2 separate regions of the Homo sapiens genome follow, and region 1 is linked to region 2. Evidence: promoter capture Hi-C in 16 types of primary human blood cells and fetal thymus (Javierre and others, 2016). All regions are on one chromosome and are shown on one strand. The core of a region is centred on a gene start or on the middle of the fragment in contact, and the rest is flanking DNA. Distances in the headings are between cores, read along the strand shown. Region 1 overlaps GMDS (GDP-mannose 4,6-dehydratase). Region 2 holds the start of FOXC1 (forkhead box C1).

Region 1 (5,184 bases), core at 2,253-4,752, 480 kb after region 2:
CTCCGCCTCCCGGGTTCACACCATTCTCCTGCCTCAGCCTCCCGTGTAGCTGGGACTACAGGCGCCCGCCACCACGCCCGGCTAATTTTTTGTATTTTTAAATAGAGATGGGGTTTCACCGTGTTAGCCAGGATGGTCTCGATCTCCTGACCTTGTGATCCGCCCGCCTCAGCTTCCCAAAGTGCTGGGATTACAGGTGTGAGCCACCATGCCCGGCCTAAATAAAACTCTTTAATTCAACTTCTCAAAAGTAAAAGAGTGGGTTTACATATAATTTGAGCAAACCAGAGAGGACTATCCCCTTCATCAGAAACTTTCTGACACTATTAAAGTGAAAGAACCAGTCTTGCAATTAGTTACATAAAACCACAACCAAATTCAGAAGTCAGTACCAAATTTAGCAACCCTATCATTTTTCAAGGTTGTACCAGTTTTTACTAGACAAAGCAAATGAAGCCTAGGAAAATACCTGAACATGTTCACATTTAGAAAAGTCTACTCTTCTACAGTCCTATTTAACCAATGTCATGAGATCCTTAAGTTTATGAAAGTATTTTCTCTTCCATGAAAGAAGCAAAAAAAAAAATTATTTTTCTTAGCTTAGAAATCTTTAAGGCAAACCCAGGTCCACTCTCGTGACCTTATCTTTTTTATTCCTTTCTTTCTCCCTAGGTATCTGTAACATGGTTATTTTCATTATTTTCTCACTTATTTTTTTCTTGTGAATCACCTGTGGCTTTTTAGTATAGCAAATATGTTAGGCTAAATAAAAAAATCGGGTTTCTTTTCTCACTAAGTAAATAACTCTGATTATAATATTTCATCTTGAATTAACATTATTCTTAATTGTCTGTGCACCTTACCTTACACATTTAGCAGTCATATGCACTTCCTTCCAGTTTCTCTGACTTTTTTGCACATCAGTCTCCTCGGAAGAGAAAAATCTAACTATTTTTTTTTAAACAGGGTCTCACTCTGTCATCCAGGCTGGAGTGCAGTGTCACTATCTCAGCTCACTGTAGCCTCAACATTTTGGGCTCAAGTGATCCTCTCACTTCAGCCTCCAAGTAACTGGGACTACAGGCGCTCACCACCACACCGGCTAATTTTTGTATTTTTTGTAGAAACAGGGTCTCACTATGTTTCCCAGGCTGGTCTCAAACTCCTGAGCTTAAGCAATCCACCTGCCTCGGCTTCCCAAAGTGCTGGATTACAGGCGTGAGTCACCACACCTGGCCAACCATGAAATGTAGACATTACTAAAGTCAGGCATACCTGAACTCTCTAGTCATTCATTAATCCAGGCTCTCCTGTCATTCATTAATTCTGTGGCCTTAAGATATAAAAATTCTCTGAGCTTATTTTCTGAATAAAATGAGGGATACAATACAGATTACATCAAATTATTAAATAAACTAAAGTGTGGACACAACTCTTCACAGAGAGTGTGGCACAGGTGAGGAAACAATGGTCATGCTGGGGTTGCTCTCACTCACTGGTTTTGATTGTTTGCTCCACATGAAAACACACTGTCTCAAAAACACACCTGATTTTCTTCCAGACATGACATGTAGAACACCCCCACTAGCCATGACTCTAAATCAATCTCTGTGGTACCATTCACCCAGCAATTGTGCCTCCTGAGGCAGTAACTATCTATGTGCACTGACCTAGAGGCTGGCAGTTTCAATGAAACCCTGCCTCCCCTTTCTTCTTTTCATCCCTCTACTAGAAGCAACACTTTTGTGCTAACACACAAGTCAAAGACATTGATCTTACACAATAGAAAATTGTGGCTCACACACCTAGAATTCCCATCATTCTAATACGATACAGAGAGCTACTCTGTTAAAATCCAGACCTTTCAAGGCACACTGGCCAGGCAGCATCTCCACTTAAATCAGAAGGGAACAGCCAACCATGAGTAACCAGCATGCTGCTGCTCCTCCCCAAAGCTGCCGTTCTGCAGCTGACTCGGGGACTTCGAAACAACTTCAGTAGTGACAAAGGCTGCTCCCAGCTTTTACATACTTTTCAATTCATATAATAGACATTTCACAGAAAGTTGCTGATAGATTTTCTTCTGCCTGTGCACATCAGTTAAATGTGTTTTATTTCCCTTCTGGGCTACGTGCTGGCAGAGAATAACACAATGAAGAGGTGATAGTATGCCTTTCCAGGCCCTTTATGGCCAAGATTATGAAAGAAGGGCTTTGACGAAGAATGTTCAGGCCGACTATAATAGTTTTCCTTTTAGTGTATTATTGTTGCCATGTGTTTGCTGCTGTCTGGAGCAATAAAAAAGCTCTGAAATATTTGTCTGTGTCCTCCATAGACCCAAGAGTTTCCATAAGAGAAATCACTTGGAAAATCACAATATTGCTCCAAATAAAATATTAACATAAAAAACTTGTTGAAATGTTGAGCTAAAATACTAAAGAATTATGACCACAGCTGTAATTTATGAGGATATGAGTGCCTTCACCTCCTAAGGGCCTTTCCACTCCCACCACAGGCACATGTTTGGTATTGTTCTCACACAACATAGATGCCACCAACCAGAACGAATTGCTTTGGGGATCCTCAGAAGTTCTGACAGGATAGATTAGATGGACAAGGAAAGCTGTCATGATTCATTTCTTGATTAGATGGACACTTAGTAAACCAATAGTCAGTTCTTACAATTTTATTTGAAGAAATGATGATTACTTCTTTTGTATATGAAAATACTTTTTCTTTCTTCCTGTCATCCTAAATGTAGATTTATTTACTTAAGTTGAAAAATTTGGCCTCAAAATGTAACAAATTAATTAGTGATAATAATCTATCAGAAAGGAAGTGAGCCCAACATCAGTAACATCAATAATCTTTGAGTATTCATGAATTCTCTCTGAACTCAATCTTAACAGAAATATTCTCATTAAGAAAATCTCTAACAGAAGAGACAATTTGCACTCAGGCCCACAATTTCATCTTCACTATTCAAATTTAAGGACAGATTTCTGTGTTTATTCTCAGTACCCAGAAAAAGTAGGCACTCAATGACTGCTGTGGTAAGTAAACTTCATGTTTTAGCACTTAGCCACACGCAATTTTAGTATTGCTTGAATGTTGTTCACTTGCTTATGAACCTGAAAAATAAGTCTTGGACGTTTAGTTATCCCAAGACCTAACACAGTGTGCCTATTTGCTCTCAAATATTATCAACATCAAAGAAGTTTTTAGTTTGCCAGAATGTTAGATTGAGTGAAGTCCCTATAATCAAGGTAGATTATCTGCATTGCCCAAGTTTTGTGTCCTCAGATTTTTATAGACATTATTGCGCATCTTCTGTTGACATTTTGTTTATGCCAAGTAGGATCTTTGTTTTTCCTAACCTAAAAGGGCTGAAAGAGAAGCTTTTGACTTAACAATTAATTCAGCATTTACTTATTTTATTTGTCTACAAAGTAATATGCTCATATGCTGGAGTGGAGGAAAGAAAGGTGGCTAGAAAGGTTAAAATGAGATGTAGAAAGTAAAAAAAAAAAATGCTGTGATATAGAGTACAGATTTTACAAACAAGAATGTTATGGAAGAAAACAGTCAGTGTTTTGCTGAGATTACAAAGCTTAATTAGTGATAGCGGAGATCAGAAAAAAAATGCAATCAAGAGCAGAGTGTGGGGGATATGGGAGGTATTCAGCTAATGCTTCCAGAAATGATCTAAGTGATTCGTTTGCAAAAAGAAAGGCTAGCTAGACATTAACTTGTCTGTAAAATGGTAATAATAGGAATCTGCTTTGCCTGTATCATAGGATTGGTATAAAGACAAAAAGAGATAATACGTGGAAAGACCTGCAAACTATAATGAACCACCAGTGAATGCAGGTTCCTCCTATCAACCTCATCTTGCCTGATAACTCACACATTCTTCCAGTCTCGAAATTCCTTAAGTCTTTGGGTTGTACAAAATAAATAGTTTCCTGATCTCTCTTTTTTATTGAGATAGAAATTTTCTATGCATACTTTACTTAAAATGAATGACATTGTTACTGGCTCTGTAAATTAGAGAACACTGGTTCTTTCTGATCACAATCTTGATCCTAGAGATGAAATACTCCACCTGGCAAGAGAGGAAAATCCAGGCCTCATGTCATGCCCTAAGCATGGTTTATGTTGGCACCACTCTTTCCCTATATCCCACCACCAAGAGAGCTGAAGCTCAGATAAGATGCATAACTCAATGGGTATTGGGGATACACTGAGAAACTGAGAGCACAAAGGACAATCCACAGTGTGACAACAAGCATGTCAGAGCTGGTCCTTGTCCCTTTATCCTTGATAGAGGCAACATGTGCCAAGGGAGGCAGGTGACTGAACAGTTTTATCTGTTCTCTCTTTAGTCATTAATTCATCCAGTGAACATTTATTGGGCAGCTATTATGTGTAAATCACTACACGAAAAGCCAATGGTAATACTAAAACAAAACAAAAAAAACTAATTTCTCAAACAGCGTATAGATTCATTTAAAATACTGTTATCCAGTATGGAAATGAATGTCATGAATAAATGGTGCTCAATCATTCCCCCAGCTTCCAATACTTTTTAGTTCTTTTATCTGGGGCCAGATTACAAGGAAATCAAAAGTCATGCTCAGGAATTTTCACAGAGAAACTACTGAAGGATTGTGAGAAGAGACTTAATTAGCCTGAACCTGATTTACTATTGAATTTAGGAAGAAAAAATAAAATTAAAGTCAACTAAAAGGTTCTAACAATAGACTATTTGTGAGATGACAAGGAAGGACTTAACCAGAGCAACAGAACCGAGAACAAAATAAAATAAATGCTTCAAGAGGCCACAAAGTAGAGGATGATTTTCAATGCAAATAAAACAGCTACAAAAGTTGAAGAAGGGAGAATAGATAATAAGAAAGAAAAGAGAAGCAGAAGGAAAAAGAGAAGCAGCACCCAAAGTAAAAGAGAAAAGGAGATGTAAGAGGAGAGGTCTCATCAGACTTTTTCCTTGAGTGCCTGGTTATTTTTTACTATGTGTTGTTCACTGCTTTTGAAAACTTATTCTTGGGTCTTATTTGTGGTAACTTCCTCCAGAGAGAAATTCTGTTGGCTTGTGTCAGGAACCTAGGACTTACACAAGTTCCCAAACTCCTAAAACTAAATCCTGAGTTTAAAATGTTCTGG
Region 2 (4,893 bases), core at 227-2,726:
GTCCTTGGATTTAATAGATGGTCGGAAATCAGGGGCAGCGGAGCTGTTAAATGCGTCACGCACGCTTCTTCGCAGTCTCCTGAGCTCGCCACTTCCCCCAGCTTCTAGTGAACGACTTGGGATTCAGCCTCCGGGAGGGTCTCTCCTCAAGTCGCTAAAATGCAGAATCGCCGTGCCGGGGGAGGGAGGCCTGGCTCTTTCCCGCTCCTTCGTTTCTTTCCCTCATTTCTCTTCTTCCTGTCCCATTCCAACCACCCAGCGACGGCGAATCTCAGGCGTGTGCACAACGAGCGGGGGCCCTTCCGTGCGTGTCCCCCCAGAATCCTTGAACCGCCCTCTAGGTGCGACCCTGGACGTTCCCCCAGACACACCCGTTGTCTCTGCGAGCCGGCAGCCCCGCGCATGTGGAGATGGAGACTGGCCTGGGGAAGCGTTAAGCTCTTAGACATATTTATTTGCTTCTTGTCATCACACCTGCTAATGTCACCGAGCCCGCAGCCTGACCCCTCATCTGAGCCGAAACGGGCCTGACGGGATCAGAGGGGGCGGCGGCGCGGCGAGCCGGTGGGACCCTCGCGGGCGGGCAGGGGAGCGCGGGGCAGCAGCCGGGCTCCGGCAGCCCTCGCCGCCCGCACCCTCAGGCCGCCAAGGGCCGGCCCCCCGGGGAGGGGGGCGAGAAGCAGGGCGGCCCGCAGCGGGGCGGGCTCATCCTTCGCGGGTGAACGGCCGTCGGAAACTCCCAGCAGGGCCCCGCACCCCTTGCCTTCATTTCGGCTGGGGAGGGGTCATGGAGGGGGGCCAGATGGGCGACGAACCTTCTTCCCCACCGCGAGCAGGGCCTGGCTGTGACCGAGCCCTCAAAATCATGTCCTTTGTAGCCGAGTTCAGGACAGGAGAACCTCCAAGTGGAGAAAAGCCGGAGACGTCAGTGACCCGAGTGAGACTGGCGTTGGAGAAGGGAGGGAAGGGGCTGCGGGAGGGGAGAGGCGGCGGGGAGGAGAGGCTGGGGCAACCCCAGCGCTGGCGTCGGCGGGGCTGGCGAAGGAATGAGAGCGAGCCAGCACGAGGCGGGGCGGAGACGCCAGGGCCACTCGGGAGCCGTGGGCGAAGGAAGGGTCTGCACGGGGTCCCGGGAGGACCCAGGAAGTCTGCGCGAACGGCGGGCGTGGGTCCGGAGGGCCCGGGGTGGGAGGTCTGCCGGGCGCCGGCGGCAGGCAGGTGGACTGCGGGGGGCGAACCGACGGCGGGCCGGGCGCCGGCGCGGGCGCAGGGCCGGGGCCCGGGCCAGGGCGGCCGGCGCGCGTGTGGTCAGCCCCGCGGTCCTCCGGCCTCCGGGAGCGGGCCGGCAGGGCTCGGCCTCCGGCTCATTCGGAGGCGGTTCTCACCTCCCATTGGCTGCCGCCGCTGGCGGGGCGGGGCTCCGCTGCCCGGAAAAAAGTGTAACTGCGTAAAAAAGTCCTCGCCTGGGTGACGGATGCTCAAAAGTTCAGAAGTTTTCCCAATGCTTCCTTAAGCGGCTGGCGCGCGAGAGACCGAGAAAAGGTGACGCGGGGCCCGGGCAGGCGGCCGGCGCGCGGCCCCCCCCCCCCCCGCCCTGGTTATTTGGCCGCCTTCGCCGGCAGCTCAGGGCAGAGTCTCCTGGAAGGCGCAGGCAGTGTGGCGAGAAGGGCGCCTGCTTGTTCTTTCTTTTTGTCTGCTTTCCCCCGTTTGCGCCTGGAAGCTGCGCCGCGAGTTCCTGCAAGGCGGTCTGCCGCGGCCGGGCCCGGCCTTCTCCCCTCGCAGCGACCCCGCCTCGCGGCCGCGCGGGCCCCGAGGTAGCCCGAGGCGCCGGAGGAGCCAGCCCCAGCGAGCGCCGGGAGAGGCGGCAGCGCAGCCGGACGCACAGCGCAGCGGGCCGGCACCAGCTCGGCCGGGCCCGGACTCGGACTCGGCGGCCGGCGCGGCGCGGCCCGGCCCGAGCGAGGGTGGGGGGCGGCGGGCGGCGCGGGGCGGCGGCGAGCGGGGGCCATGCAGGCGCGCTACTCCGTGTCCAGCCCCAACTCCCTGGGAGTGGTGCCCTACCTCGGCGGCGAGCAGAGCTACTACCGCGCGGCGGCCGCGGCGGCCGGGGGCGGCTACACCGCCATGCCGGCCCCCATGAGCGTGTACTCGCACCCTGCGCACGCCGAGCAGTACCCGGGCGGCATGGCCCGCGCCTACGGGCCCTACACGCCGCAGCCGCAGCCCAAGGACATGGTGAAGCCGCCCTATAGCTACATCGCGCTCATCACCATGGCCATCCAGAACGCCCCGGACAAGAAGATCACCCTGAACGGCATCTACCAGTTCATCATGGACCGCTTCCCCTTCTACCGGGACAACAAGCAGGGCTGGCAGAACAGCATCCGCCACAACCTCTCGCTCAACGAGTGCTTCGTCAAGGTGCCGCGCGACGACAAGAAGCCGGGCAAGGGCAGCTACTGGACGCTGGACCCGGACTCCTACAACATGTTCGAGAACGGCAGCTTCCTGCGGCGGCGGCGGCGCTTCAAGAAGAAGGACGCGGTGAAGGACAAGGAGGAGAAGGACAGGCTGCACCTCAAGGAGCCGCCCCCGCCCGGCCGCCAGCCCCCGCCCGCGCCGCCGGAGCAGGCCGACGGCAACGCGCCCGGTCCGCAGCCGCCGCCCGTGCGCATCCAGGACATCAAGACCGAGAACGGTACGTGCCCCTCGCCGCCCCAGCCCCTGTCCCCGGCCGCCGCCCTGGGCAGCGGCAGCGCCGCCGCGGTGCCCAAGATCGAGAGCCCCGACAGCAGCAGCAGCAGCCTGTCCAGCGGGAGCAGCCCCCCGGGCAGCCTGCCGTCGGCGCGGCCGCTCAGCCTGGACGGTGCGGATTCCGCGCCGCCGCCGCCCGCGCCCTCCGCCCCGCCGCCGCACCATAGCCAGGGCTTCAGCGTGGACAACATCATGACGTCGCTGCGGGGGTCGCCGCAGAGCGCGGCCGCGGAGCTCAGCTCCGGCCTTCTGGCCTCGGCGGCCGCGTCCTCGCGCGCGGGGATCGCACCCCCGCTGGCGCTCGGCGCCTACTCGCCCGGCCAGAGCTCCCTCTACAGCTCCCCCTGCAGCCAGACCTCCAGCGCGGGCAGCTCGGGCGGCGGCGGCGGCGGCGCGGGGGCCGCGGGGGGCGCGGGCGGCGCCGGGACCTACCACTGCAACCTGCAAGCCATGAGCCTGTACGCGGCCGGCGAGCGCGGGGGCCACTTGCAGGGCGCGCCCGGGGGCGCGGGCGGCTCGGCCGTGGACGACCCCCTGCCCGACTACTCTCTGCCTCCGGTCACCAGCAGCAGCTCGTCGTCCCTGAGTCACGGCGGCGGCGGCGGCGGCGGCGGGGGAGGCCAGGAGGCCGGCCACCACCCTGCGGCCCACCAAGGCCGCCTCACCTCGTGGTACCTGAACCAGGCGGGCGGAGACCTGGGCCACTTGGCGAGCGCGGCGGCGGCGGCGGCGGCCGCAGGCTACCCGGGCCAGCAGCAGAACTTCCACTCGGTGCGGGAGATGTTCGAGTCACAGAGGATCGGCTTGAACAACTCTCCAGTGAACGGGAATAGTAGCTGTCAAATGGCCTTCCCTTCCAGCCAGTCTCTGTACCGCACGTCCGGAGCTTTCGTCTACGACTGTAGCAAGTTTTGACACACCCTCAAAGCCGAACTAAATCGAACCCCAAAGCAGGAAAAGCTAAAGGAACCCATCAAGGCAAAATCGAAACTAAAAAAAAAAAATCCAATTAAAAAAAACCCCTGAGAATATTCACCACACCAGCGAACAGAATATCCCTCCAAAAATTCAGCTCACCAGCACCAGCACGAAGAAAACTCTATTTTCTTAACCGATTAATTCAGAGCCACCTCCACTTTGCCTTGTCTAAATAAACAAACCCGTAAACTGTTTTATACAGAGACAGCAAAATCTTGGTTTATTAAAGGACAGTGTTACTCCAGATAACACGTAAGTTTCTTCTTGCTTTTCAGAGACCTGCTTTCCCCTCCTCCCGTCTCCCCTCTCTTGCCTTCTTCCTTGCCTCTCACCTGTAAGATATTATTTTATCCTATGTTGAAGGGAGGGGGAAAGTCCCCGTTTATGAAAGTCGCTTTCTTTTTATTCATGGACTTGTTTTAAAATGTAAATTGCAACATAGTAATTTATTTTTAATTTGTAGTTGGATGTCGTGGACCAAACGCCAGAAAGTGTTCCCAAAACCTGACGTTAAATTGCCTGAAACTTTAAATTGTGCTTTTTTTCTCATTATAAAAAGGGAAACTGTATTAATCTTATTCTATCCTCTTTTCTTTCTTTTTGTTGAACATATTCATTGTTTGTTTATTAATAAATTACCATTCAGTTTGAATGAGACCTATATGTCTGGATACTTTAATAGAGCTTTAATTATTACGAAAAAAGATTTCAGAGATAAAACACTAGAAGTTACCTATTCTCCACCTAAATCTCTGAAAAATGGAGAAACCCTCTGACTAGTCCATGTCAAATTTTACTAAAAGTCTTTTTGTTTAGATTTATTTTCCTGCAGCATCTTCTGCAAAATGTACTATATAGTCAGCTTGCTTTGAGGCTAGTAAAAAGATATTTTTCTAAACAGATTGGAGTTGGCATATAAACAAATACGTTTTCTCACTAATGACAGTCCATGATTCGGAAATTTTAAGCCCATGAATCAGCCGCGGTCTTACCACGGTGATGCCTGTGTGCCGAGAGATGGGACTGTGCGGCCAGATATGCACAGATAAATATTTGGCTTGTGTATTCCATATAAAATTGCAGTGCATATTATACATCCCTGTGAGCCAGATGCTGAATAGATATTTTCCTATTATTTCAGTCCTTTATAAAAGGAAAAAT

The links. Contacts are between HindIII fragments. The CHiCAGO score rates a contact against its expected background, and 5 or more counts as called.
Region 1: a contact is called between a fragment that was not itself captured here and the fragment with the promoter of FOXC1 in region 2, in 2 of 17 cell types (M2 macrophages and M0 macrophages). The highest score is 6.6, in M2 macrophages.

The regions. Positions count from the first base shown.
Region 1 is chr6:2,084,589-2,089,772 of GRCh38, forward strand. The region is part of intron 4 of GMDS (GDP-mannose 4,6-dehydratase); the gene reads right to left. Among named protein-coding and RNA genes, the nearest start is that of GMDS, 160 kb to the right of the region's middle. The HindIII fragment of the contact is 212 bases long and covers 3,397-3,608 here.
Region 2 is chr6:1,608,439-1,613,331 of GRCh38, forward strand. FOXC1 (forkhead box C1) reads left to right here and starts at 1,477. Exons shown (of 1, transcript NM_001453.3): 1 at 1,477-4,893. The coding sequence starts at 2,008. The coding sequence ends at 3,669. RefSeq lists a silencer at 1,285-1,904 and an enhancer at 2,235-2,334. The HindIII fragment of the contact is 8,300 bases long and covers 1-4,893 here.